Linked DNA regions of Homo sapiens: regions 2 and 3 are each linked to region 1. Evidence: promoter capture Hi-C in human tissues and cell types (Jung and others, 2019). All regions are on one chromosome and are shown on one strand. The core of a region is centred on a gene start or on the middle of the fragment in contact, and the rest is flanking DNA. Distances in the headings are between cores, read along the strand shown. Region 1 holds the start of ZNF74 (zinc finger protein 74). Region 2 has its middle 110 kb from the start of MED15. Region 3 overlaps MED15 (mediator complex subunit 15).

Evidence for each region. Contacts are between HindIII fragments. The study calls those that stand out against the background at their distance.
Region 2: a fragment that was not itself captured here is called in contact with the fragment with the promoter of ZNF74 in region 1 in 2 of the 25 tissues and cell types used here (lymphoblastoid cells and mesenchymal stem cells).
Region 3: a contact is called between a fragment that was not itself captured here and the fragment with the promoter of ZNF74 in region 1, in 1 of the 25 tissues and cell types used here (dorsolateral prefrontal cortex).

Annotation. Positions count from the first base shown.
Region 1 is chr22:20,392,210-20,396,422 of GRCh38, forward strand. ZNF74 (zinc finger protein 74) reads left to right here and starts at 1,942. Exons shown (of 5, transcript NM_003426.4): 1 at 1,942-2,453; 2 at 3,124-3,209. The coding sequence starts at 2,420. RefSeq lists enhancers at 1,052-2,041, 1,443-1,512, 1,983-2,122. The HindIII fragment of the contact is 17,508 bases long and covers 1-4,213 here.
Region 2 is chr22:20,615,039-20,619,251 of GRCh38, forward strand. It overlaps the pseudogene SMPD4P1. Among named protein-coding and RNA genes, the nearest start is that of MED15, 110 kb to the left of the region's middle. The HindIII fragment of the contact is 4,283 bases long and covers 1-3,955 here.
Region 3 is chr22:20,531,419-20,535,631 of GRCh38, forward strand. All of the region lies in intron 1 of MED15 (mediator complex subunit 15), which reads left to right. Among named protein-coding and RNA genes, the nearest start is that of MED15, 26 kb to the left of the region's middle. The HindIII fragment of the contact is 8,855 bases long and covers 1-4,213 here.

The sequences.
Region 1 (4,213 bases), core at 692-3,191:
GCTAGACACAGGGTGCTGATTGGTGTGTTTACAAACCTTAAGCTAGACACAGAGTGCCCACTGGTGTATTTACAATCCCTTAGCTAGACATAAAGGTTCTCCAAGTCCCCACCAGACTCAGAAGCCCAGCTGGCTTCACCCAGTGGATCCCGCACCGGGGCCGCAGGTGGAGCTGCCTTCCAGTCCCGCGCCGTGCGCCCGCACTCCTCAGCCCTTGGGTGGTCGATGGGACTGGGCGCCGTGGAGCAGGGGGCGGCGCTTGTCGGGGAGGCTTGGGCCGCGCAGGAGCCCACGGCGGTGGGTAGGCTCAGGCATGGCGGGCTGCAGGTCCCGAGCCCTGCCCCGCGGGGAGGCAACGAAGGCCCGGCGAGAAGTCGAGCACAGCAGCTGCTGGCCCAGGTGCTAAGCCCCTCACTGCCCGGGTCCGGCTGGCAGCTCCGAGTGCGGGGCCCGCTGAGCCCACGCCCACCCGGAACTCGTGCTGGCCCGCAAGCGCTGCGCGCAGTCCCGGTTCCCGCCCGCGCCTCTCCCTCCACACCTCTCGGCAAGCTGAGGGAGCCGGCTCCGGCCGCAGCCAGCCCAGGAAGGGGCTCCCACAGTGCAGCGGTGGGCTGAAGGGCTCCTCAAGCGCGGCCAGAGTGGGCGCCAAGGCCGACTAGGCGCCGAGAGCGAGCAAGGGCTGTGAGGACTGCCAGCACGCTGTCCCCTCTCACTGGGTTGCTATTAAAAATGGGCGCTGAATATAAAAATTAACCGGGCGTGGTGGTGCATGTCTGTAAGTCCCAGCTACTCCGGAGGCTGAGGTGGGAGAATAGTTTGAGCCCGAGAGACTGAGGCTACGGTGAGCCGTGATTGTGCAACTGCACTCCAGCCTGGGCGACAGAGTGAGACCCAGTCTCAAAACAAAATCAAACACGGGCGCTGCCCTGGGCAGGGGAGGTCTGGGCACAGCTGTGCTGATGTGGGCAGTGGACAGGTGTCACGTGAGAGCCTGTGGCCAAGCCTAAGCTGCGGTTAAGGTGGGAGGCTGAAGGGTTTGGAGTGTGCACCACCCCGGACCACCTCTCAGTAGGAATGTGGCAATGCACTTCGGTGCTGGATTCCTACTTCTGGCTGTGTGATTTGCGACACGTTACCCCACGCACCTGTACCACAACTTCCTCATCTCCCAAATGGGATGACAGTAGTTAGCAAACCTCCCTGGACTGCTGTGAGCATTCTGCCAGAAAAATGTACTCCAAGCTCTTGAAGTAGGCCTGGCGTTTGGTTGGTGCTCAGTACATATTCAATGTTTCTGTCGCTGGCGTCATCACTGTGTTCATGGCAGAGCTCTGTGCCGCCAGGACTGGGCCGCCACCCAGACCTTCCTTTCCCGCCCCAGGGGTGAACTGTGGACAGGACCCTCTGGGGGGACTAGGCCAAGGCTCTCCCACCTCTGGGGACCCGCGCCCATGGGCCTCAGATATGTGGCTCGAGAAGGGGGAGTGGGGGCAGGGCCCCTGGAAAACCCCTCGAGGCCAGACCCACCACTCCCAATATCCGTAAGACCAGGGGCTTGAGTCTTTCCTGCAGACAGATGTGGGCAGGAACCCACCCGACTCCCAGCTACGTGGGGACGTGGACGAACTAACAGGACAAATTCTAGTTCCTGGACACCGCCCTCCCAGTATCCTCGCAATTAGACACCCATGCAGCGGCACTACACTGATCCGCACACGGAGATACACAGCGACATCCGCCCGCAAGAGCATGGTGGGTGCCGGAGCTCCCGGCTGTGGGCCCAGGAACTACATTTCCTAGAAGGATGTGCTAGATACTCGTTCGCGTCGGGACGCAAGCACCGGCCCGAACTCGCTCTAGGAAATGGAGTCTGACGCCTGCGCGGCGCAAACGCTCCCGGGAGGTGTAGTTTGCGCCTATTTCGCGCAGGCGCGCTTTCCCGCAGCGGCCGCCTGCTGCTCTTTGTGGCAGTCGCAGTCCTTTTGTGGGAGTCCGGTCTGTCCACTTGCCGGTCCCTCAGACCGTCGGCGGTCTCTGTCCGCTTCGGGACCTGTCCGCTGGTCGCTCCGCGTCCGATGGCTCCTGGCCGCGGAACCTTAGGCCTGGCCCTGGTCTCCGAGCGCGGGTTCGCCGGGAGGAGCGTGTGGCGGGGGTGTGCCGGGGCGTGAGTGCGCCGAGCATGGGGCTGAGCCTGGTGTGGGGAGTGGGTATCTGCGGAGCCGGCCTGAACCCCACCTCAGCCGGGCGCGGGGAGGGGGCTCCGTGCGTGTGATCGTGCAGCTGTGAGCGCGTGGCCGCCCCGCGGGGCTCCGCTGCAGGCCCCTCAGCCCCAGGAGCAGTACTCGCTCTTCAGGGCCTGCCCTGGATCCTGGAGGCTACACAGCTGCCCACTCCTCCTGGGGAGGCTGCCGTGGAGGCCATGGAGATCCCTGCCCCGGAGCCCGAGAAGACAGGTACAGCTTCACTCTTGTAGTCAGTATGTCTGTGGATTTGCACTTGAGGATATTGACACTCAGAGAGATCAGGCCAGTTTCCCAGAAGCATCCAGCATCTTTTTTTTTTTTTTTAAATGGAATCTCACTCTGTCACCCAGGCGGGAGTGGTGCAATGGCTTGATCTCCGCTCACTGCAACCTCTGCTTCCCGGGTTCAAACTATTCTCCCGCCTCAACCTCCCAAGTAGTTGGGATTGCAGGCGCGCGCCACCACGCCCGGCTAATGTTTGTATTTTTAGTAGAGACGGGGTTTTGCCATGTTTCCCAGGCTGGTCTTAAGCTCAAGCGATCCGCCCGCCTCGGCCTCCCAAAGTGCTGGGATTACAGGCGTGAGCCATCGCTCCTGGCCTCCTGCTTCTTTCTTCCCCGCGCCCAATCATTTGTTCCCACTCAGACGTGCTTGATTGGGGGTAGCAGCTCTTTTCGTCATGAATTGGAGTGTCTGAGACACAGGCAGATTATTCCTCGATGCTGTTTCTGTTGGTGCTAGCTACTGGGGCTCGTTCCCCACCTGGCCTTGCTGGCAGGTTCTGCCTCCTCTCTGATTCTCACTTGTGCCACGACAGGTGGGCTTTAAGCTCAGCCGTGAGCCTGGTAGCCGTGACCTTGACTCATTTCTCCTTCGCCAGCTCTTTCCTCTCAGGATCCTGCTCTTTCCCTGAAAGAGAATCTCGAGGATATATCGGGTTGGGGTCTTCCCGAAGCCAGGTCCAAGGTGAGTGGCTGTGTGTTCTTCCTTCTTTATGAAGAGGGTTGGCACATTCCCTCCCCAGCCCTGGATCGTCAGCCTTCCACAGACCTTCACCCGGGTACCTGCTGGCCAGTCCTCAGGAAGCTCTGGGCAGTGGGAACAGCTCCAAGTGAAGAGTCCAGATGTTGCCCGAGGTGTGCCCTCGAGATGTGCTCTATTGAATGTCTCGCCCAGTCCAATTCAGTGGGTCAGTTGCTGGGGATCTCTCTGCCCAGCGCTGTGCTGGGAGCTCTGAGGAGTGGTTTTAGTGGAATCTGAGAAAGTAGTTGACGGCTCACATGGGGTCGCTTTGCCTATCCACGTGCTGGCCAGGGGTTGGTGCAGGATGTTTGCACGGTTGGTTTACTGGGACTGGAATCAGACAGGGGCACGTGGAGCAGCTCAGGAAGGGCTGGATTGCAGCACTTGGTTAAGAGTGGCGGTAGGGGACACATCCCTGTGTGCTTTCCTCTGTACCCAGCCCCTGGCATGGGGCCTTCATGGAGAGTCCTGGAGATTTAGAGAATCTGGGGGCTCAGCAAGGAATTGGCCCTGGGAACTTCTGCAGCCAAATGGGACCCAGATCCCTCCTTTTACAGACTGTGAACTCTGTTCCTCATTTTGTTTTTCTACCGCAACCACCTCACCCCATGGTTGTATTTAGAAGGGTGCAGTTGACAAAGAGAGCACAGTAGAGTGAAAGATGTGGAGGAATAAGGGGTCTTTGGGTTTTTGTTTTTTTTTTAGCATTTTGTGATTTTGTCAGTCTGCCACTCAAAAGAGGTGATGGCAGATTATAGCCAGCTAGAAACAGCTGCAAAACGTGTATTGTGAGCTGTGCCTCACTTCTGTAGTGTGTCACAATGCTTTATAGTCCTCAAGAAACTTGACAGTCAAATGCAATGCATGTTCCTTGCTTAGGGGATAGATCCAAAAAAATTGATAAAGGGCAGTTTGGGACAAGAGGAAATTTGAAAATGGGCTGTATC
Region 2 (4,213 bases), core at 564-3,063, 220 kb after region 1:
TTGGCGAGGCTGGTCTCAAACTCCTGGCCTCAAGCAATCTTTCCCACCTTGGTCTCCCAAAGTGCTAGGATTACAGGAGTGAGCTCTCATGCCTGGTCGGTTCAGTTTCAGTTTTGCAAGATTCTGGAGATTGGAAAGGAAGCAAATTCTGACACATGCTGTAACACGGATTAATCTTGAATCCATTATGCTAACTGAAGCATGCCAGTCACACACAAAGAAGTACTGTGTGCTACAGATAACAACAACGTGAATGTATTTAATACTACTGGCTGTACACTTGGAAATGGTTAAGACAGTAAATTTTATGTTATGTATATTTTACAATTACAGTTTTTTTCTTAATTAAAAAAACGAAAAGCATTAATGCTTTGGTCCAGGAAACAGCAGAACCTTCCAGTTCTGTCCTGTTGTAAGCTTGTGTCATGGTCTCCTGCCCTCTTCACAGCCAGCACATCCCATGGTCCACACAGCCAAGAGCCATCTGGGTATCATGGTCCCCTCTGGGGACCATGCCCCTCCCAGGGACAATGGTCCCTATCATTCTAGCACCCGAGGTTGTTGTGAAATGGTGTGGAGGCTTCAAAAAGCACGGCACCCCACATATTAGGAGTTATGTACAAGGTCGGAGACAGAATCCTATCTTATCTACTTCCCAGGTGTCAACGGCGAGGCTGTGGCTACCAAGTCAGTCCTAGGATCCAGTGTCAGGAGCAGCACCTGCCAAATCTCTCCAAGTTATGCTCAGAAGACACAGCCAGGACCTGGTGGATAGCACTCAGGGAGTGAGCCAGTCCACACCATCGTGAGAGGCTGGAGCCCCCCAGGACAGACAAGGGACTCTGTCACCTACTATTTGGATCCCCTGAATCAACAGAAGGCCTGTGGAGGCTGCACAAACCCCTCACCATTCCGTGTCACAAAAGTGCTACTGGGGCAACGCTTAATATCCACATGATGGTAATCATAGGAAGCATCTCCAGCAACACGAGAGACGGACACCAAGAGACCGCAACAATTATATCACAATGGGCAAATGAAACGACTCCGATGGACAGGGGATCCTGGGATGAAAAACACCATGAATGACAAGTAAGTTAGGTGGGTGGGCAGACTTATATTCATGTTTTCTAAATGTCATACCAGGAAAATGCCAACAATTTAGAATCAGCCCTGGGCTAAGCGGCCGCCTCTGGGACTCTGACCCATATAGTGGAAGATGGCTGACCAGTTTCTTTTGAAACAGACGTTGAGACCAGCTCAGCTCTCACCCGGAGCAGAGTTTCTGACCTCCAGATCTCCTGGGAGGCGGGGTCTGCATTCACAGACATCTGATGAGAGAAGTGTCGCTTCAGGGGGCTAGTGTGCTGGAGGCTACAGGAAGCAAAGGGCATGGCTGGTGTCCTGAGGGAGACACGGAAACAGGCCCAAGGTAGGAGCTCCTGCTGGCCAGGCCAGGGGCGATCTGGACATCAAAATCAATGACAGCAGGGACGTATTACAACTTGTTCAATTGCACAATGCACAAACCTCACCCCTGCCCCAAATCCACACTGATACACCTGAATAAACAAATAGCAAAGAGAAAAGTCTTCCTTCCCGCAGAGCGACCACTGACCCAATACAGGAAGAATGAAGTTAGGGAACCACCACTTGGCAACTGCCCTATTAATAGCTTATTTGGTCAAGAATCAAGTGAGGCCAGGCATGGGACCTGCGTGAGACGCCTGAAATCTCAGCACTTTGGGAAACCAAGGCAGGAGGATCTCTTGAGGCCAGGCACTTGAGACCAGCCTGGGCAACACAGTGAGACCCCGTCTCTACAAAAACATTAAAACATGAAATAGCTGGGCACGGTGGGGTGTGCCTGTAGTCCTAACTACTTAGAAGGCTGAGAAGGGAAAATGGCTCCCTCCTTGGGCCTAGGAGTTGAGGCTGCAGTGACCTATGATGGCACCAACTGCACTCCAGCCTGGGGTGACAGAGCGAGACTCTGTTTCTAAAAAAAATAAGATGTCCAGCTTGGGCAACATGGGCAAAACCCATCTCTATTAAAAAAAAAAAAAAGCATTCAGATGTGGTGATGCATGCCTGTAGTCCCAGATACTTGGGAGGCTGAGGCAGGAGGATCACTTGAGCCTAAGAGATTGAGGCTGCCGTGAGCCTAGATCATGCCACTGTACTTCAGCCTGGGGTGAGAGAACAAGATCCTGTCTTAAAGTAAAATAAAATCAATTTGAAAAAAGGAAAGAATCGACTTCTCTGTGTATGGAGTAGCCCTTCTTCTATTCCTTTACTTTCTTAATAAACTTGCTTTCACTTAAAAAAAAAGAGAAAAGAATCAACAGTTGATGTTAATACTAGTGATAATACATAGTCTCTATACATCTTCCCGGTAAATCATCATTACCAATTTTTCTTTTTTTTGAGACAGGGTCTCATTCTGTTGCCTGGGCTGGAGTGCAGTGCTGTGATCACAGCTCACTGCAACCTCAACCTCCTAGACCCGGGCCTCCCAAGTAGCTGGGACCACAGTGCACACCACCATGCCTGCATGCCTGGCTAATGTTTTTCTTTCTTTGTTTTTTGTTTTTGTTTTTTTTTTGAGACAGACTCTCACTCTGTTACCAGGCTGGAGTGCAGTGGCTCCATCTCGGCTTACTGCAATCTCTGCCTCCCAAGTTCAAGCGATTCTCCTGCCTCAGCCTCGTTAGTAGCTGGGACTACAGGCATGCACCACCACGCCTGGCTAATTTTTTGTATTTTTAGTAGAGACGGGGTGTCACCATGTTTCTCAGCCTGGTCTTGAACTCCTGACCTCATGATCTGCCCGCCTCTGCCTCCTAAAGTGCTGGGATTACAGGCGTGCACCACCACACCCAGCTAATTTTTGTATTTTTAGTAGAGATGGGGTTTCACCGTGTTGACCAGGATGGTCTCGATCTCCTGACATCGTGATATGCCTGCCTTGGCCTCCCAAAGTGCTGGGATTACAGGCATGAGCCATTGTGCCTGGCCAATATTTTTCTTTTTAGTACAAACAAGGTCTTGCTATGTTGTCCAGGCACTCATTACTAATTTTTTTTTTTTTGAGATGGGCTCTCACTCTGTAGCCCAGGCTGGAGTGCAACAGCATGATCTTGGCTCAATGCAACCTCTGCCTCCTGGGCTTGAGTGATCCCCCCACCTCAGCCTCTAAGTAGCTGGGATTACAGGCGCATGCCACCACGCCAGGCTAATTTTAAAATTTTTGGTAGAGATAGGATTTTGCTATGTTGCCCAGGCTGGTCTCAAACTCCTGAGCTCAGGTGATCCACCCACCTTGGCCTCCCTAAGTGCTGGGATTCCAGGCGTGAACCACTGCACTCAGCCTCATTACTATTTAATCTGGGCACGAAGTACTTATTTTACAGTGGACAAACCTGGCCGACACCCTTTCCACCCAGTGATAAAGCTAGCATCACCAGTGATGGGGCAAAGGGGCACTGCAGGCCTCCTGATGAGACACCTGGCAAGGACCAGGTGTCCCCGCTGCAGTGCTCCTGCCAACAAAGCCCAAGCTATGCCTAATCACCAGCAAATACAAGACAGCCCAAGGGGTGGCCACATGCTTTGGAGGGGTCAAGGTCAGGAAAGACAGACAGGCTGCAGAACCATTCCGGACTGAAGGGGACTAGAAACATCACTGCATGCAGTGGGTGAGCCTGTGCTGAAACCCAGCCAGGTAACGGGCATGAGTGGGGTAGCTGGTGGTGAACCCCGAGGTCTGATGACTAGGTGTAGCCTGGTGGCAATACTAACTTCCTGGTGTGGTGGCATGTGCTGGCTTGCACATGCCAGCAGATCTGGGGTGGGCCAGCATCTGCAGAAACGGGCCTGTATGCAGCCTCCTGGGGAAGGCAATGGGGCAGCAAGATTAAGGAGGGTCAGAGGAGCACACGCACTGTGACTATATAAGATAATGCATTCACTTTTAGGAAATACACTGACATATTAAGAGGCCAAGGGGTGTCCTACCTGTAGTTTATTCTTATTGGCTTAGGGGAGAAAAAACATATCATAGAAAGGGGATAAAGCAGATGCAGCAAAGTGTTAATTTGGAAATCTGGATGAAGGGTCTATGAACTTTTTTTTTTTTTCTGAAACAGGGTCTTCTTGTGTCACCCCAGGCTAGAGTGCAGTGGCGCAATCATAGCTAACTATAGCCTTGAAG
Region 3 (4,213 bases), core at 644-3,143, 140 kb after region 1:
AGGTTACGCTTTAGGGGAGGGAGTGCCTCTCCCAAGACCCAGAGCTGGTGAGTGGCTAGGTTGGAATTTGAGCCCAGGTCCCTCCTCCCCTGTCTGCTTCCTGCCAGGCCCAGCTGCCTGCCCCAGCACACGCCTTCTCCCAGGCACCCTGGCCTCCACTGCCAGGACGTGCCTGTTTGAGGCCTGGATTCCCCCATGGCTGCCACGCTGATTCTCCGTTCTGCACGTCGTGTCCCATCAAAATGCATGACAGTACCACTCCTTGTGTTAAAAAGAGCCAGTTATTGTGCCTGGCAGTGATGACTGCCCACTGCACACAAAAGTGGACGCCGTTGTCTCTGCTCTCAGGGTGTTCTTAGTATAGTGGGGCTGGCACACAGAAACCAGAGATTCCTCCAGGAAGTGCCACAGACATGGGTGAGGTGGCTACAGGGTTTCTGTGCAGCCGACAGCAGGGGTGCCTGGGTGGAAGCAGGGTGGGAGGCCCTAACAGGCCTGATGGGATAGTCAGGCAATGTGCCAGGTAGTAGGTCATCATCCCTGGGGCCCTGGGGAGAGTGTGTGGGGCAGGCGCAGGAGCAGGCTCCTCAGTGGGCTCCTGGACAGGCTGCCTGCTCTGCTGGTGAGGAGCGAGGCTCAAAGCAAGCAGGGGCCTGGGTTGCTTCCCACACTCAGTGGCAGTTGCTCACTGGCAGTCATGTGACCTGGGGAGCTGGCGAGGGCGTGGGGGTAGGAATGGGAACGGGAGACAGAGGCCCTTTGGGAGGAATTGCCACAGATGCAGTGGGAGTTGGGGCAAAGATTTGAACTTTGGAGAATTAAAGGTGGCAGTCAGAAAGTGAAGGGAGTTCCCAAGTTTCTGGGATGGGCACTTGGTGCTGGGAGATGAAGACACGAAGAGCTTTTCTTGATGTATCCCTGCTGGCTGCTCAGGCAGGGTCGGGCAATGCCATTAAGACACACTGTGTTCTGGGAACAGTTCTGGACAGTAAGGACATCCTCAGACCCCTTAGTGGGGGAGCTCCAAGGGCCTGTAATGATGAATCGGTCCCCTGGGAGGCTTCAGTCTAAGCTAGATACCAGTTGAACCCTGACTGAGTACACAGACATAGCTATGGCAACCAGCTAGACCATGGCCAAAGGCAGAGCATTGGAGCCCAGTTCACAGCAAGGGACTGTGTGCTCTGAGCCGGTAACAGTCCTTGTGTTCAGAGGTCTGGCTGGTCGCAACCAGGGAGTGGCCCCCAGCCCCCTTCCTCAGCTAGAGCGAGCACCACCCAGGCAGCCTTGGGTTCTTTGGTGGCCGCCTCATAGGCCTGTACTGTTTGTGAACCTGTTGCTTATGTTGGACAGGACTGTGGCAGGACAGCCATCAAGGGTCTTCCCTTGTGAGCTGACACCAGTCTGCTCTTTGTCCTCCTCTGGCTGGACAGGCCCTCGTCTTCCCGGCTTGCTTGTGTGGGGGAAGAGCTCACTGTGACATGTGGGTTCTCTGTTCTTTGTCTCAGGCTGTGCTCCTTACTCCATGTTGGGGGCTGTCTCCTTGTGTGATAGTTTCCTTTCATTTCGTGACAGTGGCTCGAAGGGTTTTGTTTTCAGGAGACAGAGACTGAGGAGTAGCCATTCGGGTCTGGCTGCTCAGGAAGGCATGCTGGGGATGGCAGCAGAGCCCAGCTCAGGGAGATCAGAAGGGGGCTTTGGGAGCAGCCAGTGCTGTTCTGAAGGTGGGCCTGGGTCCTGCCTGCAGCCTCCCGCAGCGGGTGTGTTAGGTCTAAGGGAGGAAGGAAGGGGACTTGACCTCAGCAGGAGTGTGAAATGGGTACCCTCCTGGAGTCAATGTCCAGGCAGGGGATGCCTCTGAAAAGCGCCAGGCCAGCTGGAGAGGAAAGGGCAGGCATCTGCAGGGAAGTGTGGGGGATTAGCTGCAGAGTTCCTGGGTTCTTTTTCGCTTTGTCTCTATTTTGTGACACTTGATCTTCAAACTAGAAACAGGAGCAAAGACATTTTCAAAAATACAGTTGTCAGAACTGCAAAACCACACAGGGTCTGTTACTGGCCACCAAACCTGCTGGGCCTCCCTGGGTGGATGCTGTGGGAGAGATGTGGGAGTGACATGGCACAGTGCTGCTGTTCTGAGCGGTAGCCTTGCTGGAGGAGCGCCTTGCCGGAGGAGCACCTTGCTCCTTGGCCCCACTCTGACCCTCCGAAGCTCATGTGGAACTGGACATTTACCCCAACTCGGTTTCCTGGTGTTGGCCTGTCAAGACTTGCCTGTTTCTGGCCTCCAGCTTGGTCCATGCTCCTCAGGCTCTGAGTAGCTGACGGTGCCCACAGTGTCCATGTCATCTGTGACATTACCCAGGACAGGACAGGGCCCGTCTGCCAGTACATCCCCTGGTGTATGGTGCCACCTTGCCTTCAGCTCACCAAGCATATTTCTTCAACCTGGTCATCCCACCACCTCAGAGCTATTGCACTAAGCTGTGTTTCTAGATCTTGTCTCTCTGACTGTGCCAGGTGTCTCTGCTGCACCAAGACAGTGTCTGTCTGGGGCCTGCCAGTCTGCTGACACTCTCAAAAACGGCCAGTAGCAGCTCAAAAGGACTGCTTTTGTATCAAAGCCTGGCTTTGCTCTCTGATCGCTGCTGGTGGGCACAGAGCCCATCTGTGTAACTGGTTGTCACTCCCCAGACTCTTCTGCACCCTTCTTCCTCTCTGACTCCTGGCCACATCTGCCACCCACAGCCTCCCCACTCCTTACACAGCCAGCCTCCAGGCCGTCCTGCTTGGCCTGCAAATGCTCCCCTGCTGTTTCTACTGCTCTTCCCTGAGTCTCCCTATTGGTCCCAGTGCTTTGGGAGGCCAAGGTGGAGGATCACTTAAGGCCAGGAGTTTGAGACCAGCCTGGGCAACAAAGCAAGACCCTGTCTCTACAAAAAAAGTAAAAAATAAAAAAATTAGCCAGGCGTGGTGGCGCATGCCTGTAGTCCCAGCTATTTGGGAGGCTGAGGTGAGAGGATACTTGAGCCCAGGAGTTTGAAGCTGCAGTGAGCTGTGTTTGCCCCACTGCGCTGCACCTGTGAGAGAGTGAGACATTGTCTCAAAAAACAAAAGAAGAAAAAGAAAAAAGGAAGGTGGGAAGAACAAGTATGCCTTTGAAGGGCATACCTGCCTTGAGGGGCACAGATGAGGCAACCTTCAGAAAACAGGCCTGTGCAGCCACTTCTATCAGAAATGCTCACTGACTTCTTGGGGCCTAGCAGCTATCGTCTCAGCCTCTGGGTGTGGAGACCCTGCCCCATGCTAACCTGAGAGCATGAGTACAGGGTCCTCCCAGCCCACCCATGCCTCGCTTCCCCAGGACTCTGACCCAGTGCCGCGCGTGAGTTGGTTGTCATTATCCTCCTGGATTGTTAACTCTCTCATCTTTTGTGGCCCTGGTGACCTTTCTTACTTGTCTGTTCCACACCTGGATGCCTTGTGAGCAGAAACCCCTTGCTGCCTCCTCGCCTCCCTTCAGGCTTCAGGAAGCAGACAGGGAGGTAGGAACTCCAAGAGTGCAGGAGTCTCATTCTGTCGCCCAGGCTGGAGTGCAGTAGTGCCATCTTGGCTCACTGCAACCTCTGCCTCCAGGGTTCAAGCGATTCTCCTGCCTCAGCCTCCCGAGTAGCTGGGACCACAGGTGCCTGCCACCACACCCGACTAATTTTTGTATTTTTAGTGGAGACAGGGTTTCACCACGTTAGCCAGGCTGGTCTCAAACTCCTGACCTCAGGTGATCCACCTGCCTCGGCCTCCCAAAGTGCTGGGATTACAGACCTGAGCCATCGTGCCCAGCCCAAGAGTGCTTTTTGAATCTAGCAGGGTGGTAGGTCAATGTCATTTTGTTTTTCTTTTTACATTAAGACAGATGTATGCACCTCTCAGCATTAAACCTCCTTTCTGTGATGTCTTTAAGAATCACAGTCATATTGCTGTAGCCCCGTCTGTACATTCCTTCAGTTTCCTGAGGTTGGCTGGTTGCTGTTTGGAGTGGTCAGAATGCTTTCTAGCACGAGCTGGACTGGGCCTATTCAATTCACTCAGAGGCAAGGCCCCAGAGCCCTGACATGTTTGCTTGTTTCTTTTTTCTTTTGCTTTCTTTCTTTTTTTTTTTTTTGAGACGGAGTCTCGCACTGTTGCCCAGGCTGAAGTGCAGTGGCGCAATCTCCGC